Linked DNA regions of Homo sapiens: regions 1 and 2 are each linked to region 3. The links are contacts of gene promoters, found by promoter capture Hi-C in blood cells and fetal thymus (Javierre and others, 2016). All regions are on one chromosome and are shown on one strand. The core of a region is centred on a gene start or on the middle of the fragment in contact, and the rest is flanking DNA. Distances in the headings are between cores, read along the strand shown. Region 1 overlaps TSEN2 (tRNA splicing endonuclease subunit 2). Region 2 holds the start of SETMAR (SET and mariner transposase domain methyltransferase). Region 3 holds the start of RAD18 (RAD18 E3 ubiquitin protein ligase).

Region 1 (4,655 bases), core at 1-2,500, 3.5 Mb after region 3:
CGAGAGGAGCCGCAGCCTCTGGTGGAGTTCGGTCGGGTGTGGGGGTAGTCAAGGAAAGAAGCAAAGGGGTAAGACAGGGAGTTAGGAATTGGCGGGGCCCCTAACGCTGTTGGGGTGCGCAGTTTATTTTATTTGCAGCTGTCGTCTGGTGAGCGCTTTCCACGTGGTAGGCCCCGAACGAAACGCCTTCTGCAAAATTATGCATTTAATCCTGACAACAACTTTCAAAGGCTGGTCATCTGTTTATATGGCTTATTCTCAGGTTCTAACTTGAAAGCTCCCCAGAGGCAGGATTGTTTACCTTGTGCCTTTCATCCTTGCCTCCCTAAGCCCAGGAGGTGCGCAGATGGAGCTTGAAGCGTGTTTTGGTTGGGAGAAGGTGAGATTTGCTGGGTAGGAGGTTTTTTAACCAGGTTTGTTTGGCACCTAGTCCAGGAAGGTTGGAAAATTAAATGGAGCCACCTCTCCCTTTTTTGTTTTTCTAATAGACATTTACCATCACCTAAGAGGTGTTAGCCTGTGTGCTCGAGGGAAGAATAAGAAACAGACTCTGCTTTTAATAGAAAGTAAGAATATGCAGCTCTGGAGTCAGGTTGCGCAGGTTGGGGAAATAAGAAGTAAAGATTTCTCAGGGGTGCGCCCGGCCCCTCCGAGTCACTTTCCACATCTGTACAATGGAAATAAAAATAGTCTTTACCTCCGGGGGCTACTGGGATTAAGTGAATTTGAATAGACCTTGCTGTTACCAGTGGTTAGCTATATGTTAAAATCAGCTGGGTCCACCCAGGAAATTCTGATGTAATTGATTGCAGGTGAGGCCTGGGCATGAGGAGTTAAGGGTAGGTAAGCTTGAGGGCCACTGTGTGATGTACCACTCCCAGGTTTAATTTTCTTAATCTGCATTTTTCAATCATCATTCTAAATAACCTGCAGTGACTCCAATTCCAAACCAACCTTTGCATCCCAAACCTCTTGACAACTGACCCAGTCTTTCCTATATGTTTTTGTGCACCTCAGGCACCGCTCTTCTTTCATATCTGTGGAATGAGGATAGTACAGTCAGCTCTCGCTATCAGGTTCCGAATCTGTGGATTCAACCAATGTTGCATCAAAAATATTTGGAAAAAGAAATTTAAAAATATATATATATAACAATTATTTAGTATTTACATTGTATTAGGTATTCTAAGTAATCTAGAGAAGACTTAAAGTAGATGGGAGGATGGGCATAAGTTACATGCAAATACTACATTTTATTTAAGGGACTTGAGCTGCGGATTTTGGTAGGGGGTGAGTCCTGGAACCAGTCCTTCTGTGGATACCAAGGGATGACTATAGTACCCACATGTGCAGCACATGCAGTGAGTGCCTCTGGCATCTGGTACCTACCTATGACAGTTTCCTCTTCTTATTTTACTCACATCCCACCTCTTACAGCATGCTGTTCTGCCGCGACACTAAAGAACCTTCTTGAATATCCATTGCAGATATGGGGAATGGTAAATGCAGTCTTTTCTCCTCTGCTTTGCCTTTCGAGTTCAGCACAGGAGGACTCTTCCATGAAACTAGAGATCATCTGATTTGTCCTCTTGAATTTTTCCCCCTGGGGAAGTGAGCTCTACCTTCCCTGAGGGTTTCTTTCTATCTTTTCTAGAAGCTTCACGCTGGTATCTGTGAAGTCATTCTTGCAGGACATGGCCTGGGGAATGTCTTTACTTCTGAATTTTTTAAAATAGCTTTATTGAGATACCATATAATTCTGTAAAAGTCACCCTTCTGAAATGTACGAGTCAGTGGTCTTCGTATTCGCGGAGTTATGTAACCATTACCATCACTACAATCTAATTTTAAAACATTTTCGTCACCCTCCAAAATAAACCTCCTGTCTTATTAGCAGTCGCCCCCCCATTTCCCACTTTTCCCTGTCTCTGGCAACTGGTAATCTGTCTCTATGGATTTGTCTATTCCGGAAACTTTATCTTAATTGTCTCGTGGTCTTTTGTGTCTGACTTCTTTTAGCATAATGCTTTCAGGTGTTGAAGAATGTATCCGAACTTCATTCCTTTTCTATGGCTAAGTATTTGATTATATGGATAGACCACATTTTGTTGATCTGGTCAACTATTGATGGACATTTGGATGGCTTCCACTTTGATGCTATTATGAATAATACTGTTGTGAACATTCACATACAAATTTTTCCATGAACATATGTTTTCATTTCTCTTAGGTCTATACCTAGGGGTGGAGTTGCTGGATCATGTCGTAACTATGTGTTTGACATTTTGAGGAACTGCCAGACTCCTCCAGTCCTGTTCGATTTGAAGATGAAACTGGGCTTAGAGAAAGTGGGTTGTGCAAGGTCACACAATAATAATGGCGGCTTTGCATGTCTGGAAGGCCTACTGCGAGCCAAATTCCTGAGGGGTGTGCAGCCACATGAGCAAGAGTAACACAAGAACTTGGATTATGAGGGGTGTTTTGTCGCAGGGACCCTTCCATCCCACACACCTGGGTTGGAGTACAGAGTTCTTTCGATCAAGTGTCACAGCTAAATCTTGCCTTTTTTAGATGTGACAGCAGTCTGAGAGGGAAAAACGCTGAACAAATGAGGCAGACTAAAATACAACTCTTATTTGTTGAGAGAATTTATTAGAACTTCTTGAAGGTGGCCATTAAATCTTTTTTCATTTTTTTAAAATTCCGAATGTAATGTATATAAGTCAGCTGCTGAGCAGAGGTTATAAAAGTGAAAAATCCCATAAAAGTCCAAACCATTCCTGGAAGTCTTTCAAAAAGTGCCTTACTAGAGACCAACATCCTGCCCCCAAAAAGCAGTGTTTATTTTCAGTTTTAGAATAAATTATTGTCTCTCCAATTGAGTACTAAATGTGATAATTTAGTACTTGGGCTGAGGGATAAGTCAGCAAGCAAGGTAAAGCCTAGTCTAAATATGCTCTTAAGAAAATCTCTTAGGTTTCCTGTGAGCATGCAGTAGACGTGGTTTTGTTATAAACACTATACAGCAAGATGCATGCATAAATATAAAATGTACAAAGTAATGCTCAGTATGTAATTCCTTCAAGGAACCTTATTTAGAAATTAATCTAGCATGTTGCTGCTTAGAACAATGGCAATTCTAGGAAGGTTCCAACTTCCCGATTCTTCTTTTTCATGGTTATCTTTGTAATTGATGTATCATTTCCTCTAACTCCTCTTTAGTCTGTGTTTTTCTGTGTCCTCATATAATTCCTCAGCTTCTTCCTTGAGAAGTTGGATACTGATATCATCACACGTTGGATAAGCCTTTTCTTAATGGTCATGACACTCTTAAAGCCACTCACCTTCCCCTCCCTCAGTTTTGGCCACCTTCTTGACTGTTTCAGGCTTGATGGCATCCCTTGCCAATGGGATGCAAGTACTGAGTGCAGGAGCCACCTAAGTAATTAGTCTTATTTTTTCCCTTGTGAGGATTCGGAGTCATGTAGGTTAAACGTGTGTATGATTTGGCCGCACTGTATCTTCAAGCACCAGGTAAGCTCTCAGTTGAAATCAAGTCTAGACCTAGTACTGGGGGAGCAGCAGATTCAAGTTTCCCATCTCATTCCAGGACAGCTGCTCCTCGAGTGGAATGTCTTGCACCATTTACATTGTTTTCCCATGTATATGGTTACGTTTTCCTAGGTTAAGTGCATCTACTGTATCTCTGTGTCTGCATCACACAATATGTTCACATTTACTTCCCTCCTTTAGACATTAGTGGATAACAGCCAGTTCCGTTAGCTCCAACCTGCTTTCTGTGCTTCCAGCTATGTTATATACTTGTTTTGTCTCCTTGGATCCAATGTATGGCCCCAGAGGGACACGTACTGGCTTTGGCTTTCTGTTCTCCCTCATGGTGCTGGGTGCACAGTGGGTAATTCCGTTACTGCTCAATAACCCTTCACCGTCTGATTTTGAGAAAGAGTCATCAGACAAAAGTAGATAGACCCTGCCTGTGCTTTCAGCAGAATCTAGAGAGAGGGCATGGGCTTGGGAGTTCAACAGACCTGGGTCACCCGATGCCACCACACTCGGGGTCGTCTACAAATCTCTCTAACCTGAATCTGTTTCCTATTTGTAAAATGGTGTTGCTACTGCTCACCCTGTAATACTAATTATAGCTGATACATGAATGGTACACGCTATGTGCCAGGTACTGTTCTAAGCACTTTATGGATCTTAACTGTAAGATAGAGTCGTTCTTATCTTGATTTTGCAGGTGAGGAAACTAAATCACAGAGAGAGTCAGTGACTTTTGCCCAAAATCACACTGCTAGGAAGTGGTAAAGTTGATTCTGATGCTGATAGTCTGGCTTTAGAGTCCCTGCTTGAAGCCAGTAGCATTTGGTAGTATATAATCGACCCTTAAATAACTGCTGCTGTCATTATTATTTATTAATGTACTTTAAAAATTGGGAGCTGATTGACCCAATGTTTAGTGTGTATTGTAAGATCCTCTTGGAAAATGAAGTGCCTGCAAGATTTAATTTGTTGAGGACAGGGTCTCAGTTTTGTCTTTGTCTCCCCAGCACCTATGATTATTAGGAATTCCTGGTAGTAAATGTCTGTTGGGTGAGTGAAATGGAAGCACTCCTGGTAGACAGAAATCCTGT
Region 2 (4,461 bases), core at 916-3,415, 4.7 Mb before region 3:
CTGGGTAAAGGCACTGGAGATACAAGAACAATGTGGACAAAGGCCCAGAGGCCCAAGTAGAATGGCTTTTTGAGGGAATGTCAACAGAACAAGGGGTTCCAACAGAGAACAGCAGCAAAAGAGACCAAGGAAATAGGTAAAGTCTGGGTCCTCAAAGGCTCATAAGACAGAATATAGAAGGTAAACTTTGAGAGAAAATGGAGCAAATAAGAATCTAAGCAGCAAAATATAATAACTGGACAAGGATCTTCAAAGGTCATTGTAGCAGCGGCAGTAAGGGTGATTTGGGGATATGGAGAATGACAGACTTAAAGCAAAGAACTTCCAAAGTCCAAGCAAGAAATGAGAGAGCCTAGGACTAAGTGAGAAGAGGCAAAAATGAGAACATGAAGGCAGAATCAACAAGACTTACCCACCACGTCCTTAGCTATATGAGTCTAGTGAAGTGAAGGAATACAGAGTAACTGGTTTGTTGCTTTAGTGGCTCTGTAGATCACAAATTATTTTCCCAGTTAACTTTAAAGAAGAAAAAGCAAGACTGGCAGAAGAAGTCAATTCAGATTATTTTGAGTTTGAGGAGCCTGTAGGACAGAAAACAGAAATGCTCAATCATTAGCTGAATATGCGTAACTGGATTTGAGGAGAAACGTCTGATCTGGGTTGGAGACTGGTGACCTAATCCTTTATATTTGAAGCCATGGGAGTGGATGTTATTAATGAGAAAGTTCAGGGAAGGGGAGCAAAGAAAAAGGTCAAGGGCAGAACCCTGAATCACACCCACTTTTCAGAAACAGTCAGGCAGGAAAACAACAAGAGGATACTAACAAGGAAAGGTCTGCAAGATGGAAACACATTTAGGCCAATGGGACCTCAGAAGCTGCAAGGTCAGAAGGGTTTGTGAACCCAAAATTATCTGAGACAGGTCTCAATTTAGAAAGTTTATTTTCCCAAGCTTAAGAATGCGCCCCCAACATAGCCTCAGGCAGTCCTGATGACATGTGCCCAAGGTGGTTGGGATACAGCTTACTCTCACACATTTTAGGGAGACATAATACATCAATCAATACATGTAAGATTGGTTGGATCTGGAAAGGCAGACAACGAGAAGCGGGTGAGGGGTGGCTTCCAGGTCATAGGTAGATTTAAAGATTTTCTGATTGGCAACTGGTTATTATCTAAAGACCTAAAATCAATAGAAACGAATGTCTGGGTTGCAATAAGAGGTTGTGGATACCAAATTTGATCGTGGAGATGAAGCCTCCAAGAGGTAAATTTCAGAGAACAGATTGTAAATGTTTCTTATCAGACTTAAGGTGTGTGTTGATGTTGATGCTGGCTGGCTTTTCCTGAATTCCAAAAGGAAGAAGGGCATAATGAGGCATGTTGGACCCCCCTTCCCATCATGGCCTGAACCACTTTCTCAGGTTAACCTTGGCAGAGAGGAGGGGTCCCTTCAGATGGTTTGGAGGATTGGAATTTTATTTTTGGTTTACAGTTTCAAGGAGAAGCAGGACAATCATGTCAGAGAGCTTCAGTGAGGTTGAAAATGCTCCACCGGATTCAGCAGTCTTGAGGCTATCAGAATCCTTTGGCAGGGCAGGGGTTTGGAGGGGTGAGGGTAGAGGGATGGAGAGGAGGGAAAAGGACAGGCAAAGGGGCACGGATACCTCCATCAGGGAGTGAGCATGCCCCCACACAAATTCCTTAAGGCACCCTGTGAGGCTATCGCCTTGGCACAAACCCTATCACATGTCAGTCAACTTCCCGGCAAGCCGCAGACCTTTAGAAACCTTGGTGTGCGTTTCCCCGCTCGGTTTAGAACGCACCCCTGCCTCCACTCCACAAACGTGCAGTGAGCCCTCAAAAACCTGGACAAATGACCTCACCTCGAAAGCCCCCTCTCTGATGCTCCCAGGAAAAACTAAAGCACCTCACTTTGTTTCGTCCGTACCTTACATGGTTTTGTAATTATCTGTGGTGCCTCTGGCTGAAATCAAAACGGGAGCCAGACCCAAAAAGTCAAGGAAGGGAAGCGCCTTCCAGGCCACTCCTGAGAAGAAACGAACTACAATTCCCATGAGGCGGTGGGGCCACGGGACCACAAGTCCCAGCATCCACCGCGCGGCCCAGGACTGTCAGGGTAGTGGGCGTTGCGTGAGGCGGGTAAATGTTCGCGGAAGCGGCAAAGACGACACGGCCTTGTGGGATGGCGGAGTTTAAGGAGAAGCCTGAGGCCCCGACTGAGCAGCTGGATGTCGCGTGCGGCCAGGAAAACTTGCCGGTGGGCGCGTGGCCCCCGGGGGCCGCGCCGGCGCCCTTCCAGGTAGGGGCGGGGCCAGGCGGCGCGGGAGGCGGGCGCGCGGCTCCCCCACGTGGTCTCCTCAAGCCGCCTCGCTGGGACGGCCTCCCAGTCGCGACCTTTTGTCTTCTCTTACAGCGCACCCGTTGGTGCGCGGGAATAGGTGTGCATGCCCCGGCCTGGGCCTTTTTCTGTTGACCCACGGCATCACCTTAGCAAGGGTGTTGTCCTTTTCAGTCCATTCCCTGAAGCGCAGAACCGGAGGCCTTGTGAGAACCTGGCTTTTTGTCCAGTCCTGTCCTCAGAACTCAAGGAGGCATCACGGGGGGAGTCATTTACCTCCCTGGTCTCAGGTGTCTCTCACAGGTAGGATAAGCCGTGGGGCCTATTAATGGATCGCAGCCGGTGTCGTGCATAAAAACAGCCCCTCGAGTCAGCCTTAGCTGTGGTCTCCCTCACGCTGTGGGCTCTTGGGCGAGTGTAAATTAGCTGTGGCTCAGCCTTAGAGTCTTCCAGCGTACAGTGGAACAGTACCTCTCTTCCGGAGTGCTTTGAAAATGGCAAGGAAAATACACTTTCCGGTTTGCTGTAAGAACTCAGTAAATGTTTGCTTCTATTAACTACCTCAAAGCCCTTTCTACTCTCCTTTTTCTTTTTGAGACTGAGTCTCGCTCTGTCGCCCAGGCTGGAGTGCACTGGCGCGATCTCGGCCCACCGCAACCTCCACCTCCCGGGTTCAAGCGATTCTCCTGCCTCAGCCTCCCGAGTAGCTGGGATTACAGGCATGGGCCACCACGCCCGGCTAATTTTTGTATTTTTAGTAGAGACAGGGTTTCTCCATGTTGGTCAGGCTGGTCTCGAACTCCCAACCTCAGGTGATCCGCCCGCCTCGGCCTCCCAAAATGCTGGGATTACAGGCATGAGCCACGCTCCCAGCCTCTACTGACTTTCTTATCCCTCCGACCTTGGCCTGAGCGTTACCCAAGGAATAAGGAATGACCAAAGATTTTGAAGTGGAAAGAGCGCTGGACGTGGAAGTTGGAGAGTATGGTTCGGAGCTTAGACATCTTAGCTACTTCCCAGAGCCTGAGTTTCTTCATCTGCAAAATGAAAATAATAATTTAAAAATGCATAGCCCCTTTAACATCCATTATCAACAATGAACCCTATCTGCCCTTTCTTTTTCCTAGGGGTTTTTGTGAGGATCAGATAAGATAAGAGATTCAATAGCAGCTTTCAAAGATGTCAAGGAAAAGAATCAAACTCTAAAATATTTGAAGAGATTTATTCTGAGCCAAATATGAGTGACCATGGCCTGTGACACAGCCCTCAGGAGATGCTGAGAACATGTGTCCCAGGTGGTTAGGGCACAGCCTGGTTTTATACATGTTTGGGAGAGAGGAGACGTCAATCAAATACATTTAACATGTACATGGGTTTGGTTCAGAAGGCGGGGCAACTCAAAGTGGTGGGGGGGGCTTCCAGACTATAGGTAGATTTTAATTTTTCTGGTTAACAATTTTTCTGGTTAACAATTGGTTGAGTTTGTCTGAAGACCTGGGATCAATAGAAATGTTTAGGTTAAGATAAAGGGTTTTTTTTTGAGACGGAGCTTGACTCCATCACCCAGGCTAGAGTGTGGTGGTGCGATCAGCTCACTGCAACCTCCGCCTCCCAGGTTCAAGCGATTCTTCCACCTCAGCTTCCCGAGTAGCTGGAATTACAGGCGCCTACAACCACGCCCAGCTGATTTTTGTATTTTTAGTAGAGACAGGGTTTTACCATGTTGCCCAGGCTGGTCTCAAACTCCTGACCTCAAGTGATCCACCCACCTGGGCCTCCCAAAGTGCTGGGATTACAGACGTGAGCCACCGCACCCGGCCATGTAGAGACCCAAGTTTTAATTGTGGGGAGGAGACTCCCAGCTGACTTCAGAGGGAGCAGGTTGTAAAATGTTTCTTATCTAACTTAAAAAGGTGCCTCGGTCTTAGTTGATTATCTCCTTGTTGTGGAAAGAAAGAAAAAGAGGGGGAAAGGGGATTCTCTATAGAATGTGGATTTTTCCCACAAGAGACAACCCTCCAGGGCAATTTCAAGATATGGCAAGGAAATATATTTGGGGTTAAAATATTTTGATTTCTTCCCTTATTTGTTATTTGATG
Region 3 (4,625 bases), core at 704-3,203:
CATGGATTCTGAGTCAGACTTCTATTCAATAAAAGAAGTAACTTCAGTCAGATCTGCTTCTGGGATCTGATAGTTCTTTGTGCCTGGAAGAGTTCAAGCAAAAATTAGGTGAGAAATTGGCAGATGTGTTATAAAGGAGATTAAAATACTGAAAGGGGCTGGTTTTCTAACCTTAAGATTCCATGATTCCAATGTGAGCAAAAAAATACGGGCTCAATCAACTCTCTGGTTGAACACTCACTGAACGCTCTGTGGTGCCAAACTCTACATTCAGTGCTGTGGTGAGATACCAAAGTCAGAGAAGACATGGAACCCGCCTCTAAAGAACACTGAAATTGTGGGAATATGTAAAGTGTGCTTAAATCTACAAAGCAGGAGCTTTACAGGTTACAGAGCTCTTTTACTTTCCTTATCCAAGTCAAGCTTCATGACAACAAATTAAAAGGGGAAAGAAGCACTTAACACAGTGCTAATAATAATAAAATATATTCATTGAATGCTTACTACATTCCAGATACTTTCAATCAAGCAGCAAATAATATTTGAGCACCCACTTGGTGTCAGGCACTGCAGTAAGCACAGTGAATACACAGCAGAATCTGTGCCCACATACATCAACTAATTTATTTAATCAATCCTATGAACTGTTATTTTTGTCTCTAATTTATAGTTGAAGAAATTCAGGCTCAGAGAGGTTAAGTTACTAACCGAAGGTCATACAGTCAAGAGGCAGACAGGAGATTTCACCCAGGACCACTGGAACTCAAATCTGTGCTCTTCTCCACTGCATCCTGGTGCCAAGCCCACAACTCCAAAACTACAGCTTTCCTGGATCATTTCACAATGTCAGCTTCTCATCATGCAGATATCTCAAGTCCCCAAGCACTCTAGACGTCACTGATGACAGCAGGAAGAACAAGGCCTTCTACTTACTTTAGCCTTCACTTAATTCTAAAGTCAAATTTATGAGTCAGTGGGACAGGTATTATAATCCCCAAGTCTACAAAACTGAGGGAGAAGAAGGCTATCTTAGCCACTGTGAGAAACGGAAATAATCACAGAGCAAGAAGAAACACCAAGCAACTGATCTTTATCCAGCACAGCAAAGTGCATCTGCTCTTGAGCAAATCCAGGGCCCACCACTACTGTAAATGGAAACTGGTATGCCTTGCCAAAACAGAAAGTGGCCACAAAAATAAATGTTATTTAAGTGAAATAATCAGACGCAATGCAAGATCAGCGCTGAGCCTGAGTCCTGATCTCTGTTTAAGAGACATGAGCAATTGTTAGAGAAGAGTGAAGGTGTGTTAGAGAGGAGTTGGGGCAGTATGTCAGAACAAACGAGCACTACGTTTATTGAGAATAATCAGAAGAAATGAAAGAGCCTGTAAAGGAGACTACCTGCTTGGCTACGTGATTACATACATGTTATCTGATAAAGTGTCCACCCAAAATCATGTCCGGTGTCACTGTTTAGTGCTTGACACAAAGTAAGCTTTCAGTAAAGAACAGCTGTCGATGTCATTGTTTGGAATAACTGTTTTTCTCCATGTTATTGTTGGGATTGGATCGCAGAATAGCTGGTGCCATAAGACTGCCAACCTCAGCTCACCAGGCTTGTCCTTGTCACTTATCAGAGGAGTAAACTGAGACCCAGAGCCACGCGGTCGGCTAGTGGCAGGGCAGAGCCGGATACCCGGGCCCAGTGCGACGCTCGCGCCTCATCCTTTCTCCTTAAGGCGAGGACATCCTCCTCAAAGGGAGGGACCTCCCCCCGCAGACACCCGGGAGCTCCCAAACTCCCCGAAGCACTCACCTTCATGACTGCCAGGCCCGGAGGCCACCGAGACTCGGCCAGGGAGTCCATGGTCGCTCCCGAGGATGCTGGGGGTCAGCCACCCACTAGCCTCCGGCGCTCCAACACCACTCGAAATTCCCCGCGCTACCGCATTACGTCAGCAGCCCGCGACGCGCCAGAGGCGGGCGCGGAGCCTGCCGGAAGTTGTAGTAGTATGTGGGCGGGGCGCCGCTTAAGGGCTTGTACTGCGCATGCGCCAGGCTTCTGCCGCACTTACCTTGAAGAAAGTGAATGGTTAAAAAGCGTAGAGCCAGTTGAATATTAAGAAAAGATAGCCAGGAATCAAACCAAATCCAGACCTCACCAGATCTGTCAAGGTCCAGGCTCATGACCCCCCTCCGGGTCGCCCACCCTAATCGCAGTGACTATCCGTCCTTGCTCTGAACAGAAGTTTTTATATCCATTACTTTATGTCTCCCGTATCACAACACTGGGAGGTAGATGTTATCATTGTCAGTTTACACAAGAGAAGCCTACGCCCGAAAAAGTGGATAGAGTTTCGAGTCAGATTCCAAACAGGACCTCTGGGCTTTAAATGGGAGCTGTTGCTTTTATTCATATTAAAATTTTAATGCACGGTTTTTCTTTTTCTTCGGAGAGAAGCACCATTAACTTTGGCATATAGCCTTCTAGATATTTCCTATGCAGATTGACGAAGATTCTTTGCTTGAGCAAACTTTAGTCAGGCTCCTGAACCTTCTCCTAGGCCAATCTGTGTACTTCCTGTAAAAATCCAGTTTTAGCAAAAAACCCTGCTAAATCAAGTTACCAAGAATCCCCACCTTTGATATGTGATCACTCTTGATATCTGATGTGTTCCTCATCCTCCACCATCCCCCAGTTGATGTCTGATCACCCTGGCCTCTTCAGCAAGAATCTACTGTTACCTCTGATGTTTCCTCTTAGTAATTTTTCATGCACTGCTCCCCACCCTGCTTCCTGGCTATAAATTTCCATTTGCCCATGTTGTATTCAGAGTTGAGCCCAGTTTTCACCAATTGCAAGACACAGTTCCAGTGGTCTCTATACCTACTTGAATTGTCCTGATTAAGTCTTCCTTATTGTGCTTTAACAAGTATCATTGAACAATTTTTTTCTTAAACGAGATATAAATATAGATACTTTTTTTCATACATGTTATATTAAATGCATGAGGAATGGAGGTTTACGGTGTCCACCCCCGCCCCCCACTTTGTATCAGCCAATCATAGAACGGCATGCAAATGAACGCAAATGAATGCCAGGCTGAGCTGGAAAATGTCGGATAGTTCTGGATGTGGAGGAAGTGGGGTCTTGGAGAGACAAAGGAAAAGCATTTAAGACCAGGTCCGTGGCCTGAGTGAACCAGTAATTGTTTTTTTCACACTACTAGTTGGACAAGGTAATTAGGTTTAAGGTGACAAATGGCTGGGAAGGTGAGAGAGGAAGAGAGAGGAGATGAGAAAAAAGAGAAAGAATGGGTAAGGAGAAAGGGAGAGAGAGAAAAGACAGGGACAGGAATGTACTTTTTGCATTCAACCATGGAGACAGATTTGGAAGGAGGCAGTACTTGTTAGTCCTGGGGCCAAAATACATTTCCCTATCTATGGAGAGCCTCCAGGACAGGATGCGGTGCCATTCATCTCTGAGTGTCTGCCAATAGCTGGTGGGTGAGGCTGAATGAATGGATGAATCACCGACTAAGCCCACATTCCCATAAATCTTTTCCTCCCAGGCTGAGCATTTCTCTTCCTGCCATCTTCAGCAGCACCAGGGTGATAGATCCCATCAAGCCCACCTCTAGGCCCAGGAAGGAAAGTTCAAGAACAAGCGCACTTTGAGCTCAGGAAAAGGCGTTTGTCTTGGGTGTTTATCTAACCCTGGGAGCCATTCTCCTCTTAACAAGCTGCTGTTTGTATGGACTTTCTCCTTCTGTTAGATCAATAAAGAGATTGTACTTCCTTATTCAGGACTAAAAACAAAATGTTCCATGTAAAATAAAAGCAGGCTAGTGTTTAGTGGAATCTTCTGTGGCACATAGCACACAGCGAGAAGCCAGAATAGGATGGCCAGATAAAATACAAGTTGCCCAGTAAATCTGAATTTCAGATGAACCGCACACAACATTTTAGTGTAAACCTGCCCCAAATATTGCACACAACCTATTAACCAATTATTTGTTGTTTAACCAGAAATTCAAATATTTAACTGGGCATCCTGTATTTTTATTTGCCAAATCTGACAACCCTAATTAGAGAAGCATTCTCCCAACTGAGTGTGGGGCCTGCCCTGGATTAACCTGGGGATGTCCTGTGGCCCCTGAGCTCCTTTCCAGGTTCTCTTCATCCTGTTCCTCTCTGCCCAGCACTCTCTCTTCCTCTAGGCCCCATCTTCCTCATTCTAGTTATGGGAGAGGGGATATTAAAGGAGCTCCCTCCCTCCCTTTCCTTCCTTCCTTTCTTCCTCCCTTCCTTCGTTCCTTCTTTCCTTCCTTCCTTCCTTATTTTTTTTCTTCCTTCCTCCCTGCCTCCATCTCTCCCTTCCTCCATTCATTTTAACAAATGTTTATTGAGCCACTCTCCACTTGTACCAGGTGCTAGAATACAGAGGTGAGTAAGACAGATATGGCCTCTGTTCTCCAGGAGCTGGCAGCCTGGGGGTGAGCATGGAGCCAGGATAAAAAAAAAGAGAGTTTGTAAAAAAATGAGTAAGATAATTGCATAAAACAGTAACTGATGTAAAAACAATAAAAAAGGGTGATAAAATGGACAGAGGAGGGGACACTGTA

Evidence for each region. Contacts are between HindIII fragments. The CHiCAGO score rates a contact against its expected background, and 5 or more counts as called.
Region 1: a fragment that was not itself captured here is called in contact with the fragment with the promoter of RAD18 in region 3 in 1 of 17 cell types (total B cells); the score reaches 6.2 in total B cells.
Region 2: a contact is called between the fragment with the promoter of SETMAR here and the fragment with the promoter of RAD18 in region 3, in 1 of 17 cell types (total CD4 T cells). The highest score is 6.7, in total CD4 T cells.

Annotation. Positions count from the first base shown.
Region 1 is chr3:12,484,813-12,489,467 of GRCh38, forward strand. TSEN2 (tRNA splicing endonuclease subunit 2) reads left to right here. Exons shown (of 12, transcript NM_025265.4): 1 at 1-68. Among named protein-coding and RNA genes, the nearest start is that of TSEN2, 2.7 kb to the left of the region's middle. RefSeq lists an enhancer at 1-11. The HindIII fragment of the contact is 809 bases long and covers 847-1,655 here.
Region 2 is chr3:4,301,204-4,305,664 of GRCh38, forward strand. SETMAR (SET and mariner transposase domain methyltransferase) reads left to right here and starts at 2,166. Exons shown (of 3, transcript NM_006515.4): 1 at 2,166-2,323. The coding sequence starts at 2,168. It also overlaps a transcript of SUMF1 not described here. RefSeq lists enhancers at 1,763-2,505, 2,534-2,603 and a silencer at 2,104-2,443. The HindIII fragment of the contact is 4,274 bases long and covers 951-4,461 here.
Region 3 is chr3:8,961,519-8,966,143 of GRCh38, forward strand. It overlaps RAD18 (RAD18 E3 ubiquitin protein ligase), which reads right to left and starts at 1,954. Exons shown (of 13, transcript NM_020165.4): 1 at 1,817-1,954. The coding sequence starts at 1,867. RefSeq lists an enhancer at 1,802-1,971. The HindIII fragment of the contact is 5,728 bases long and covers 1,494-4,625 here.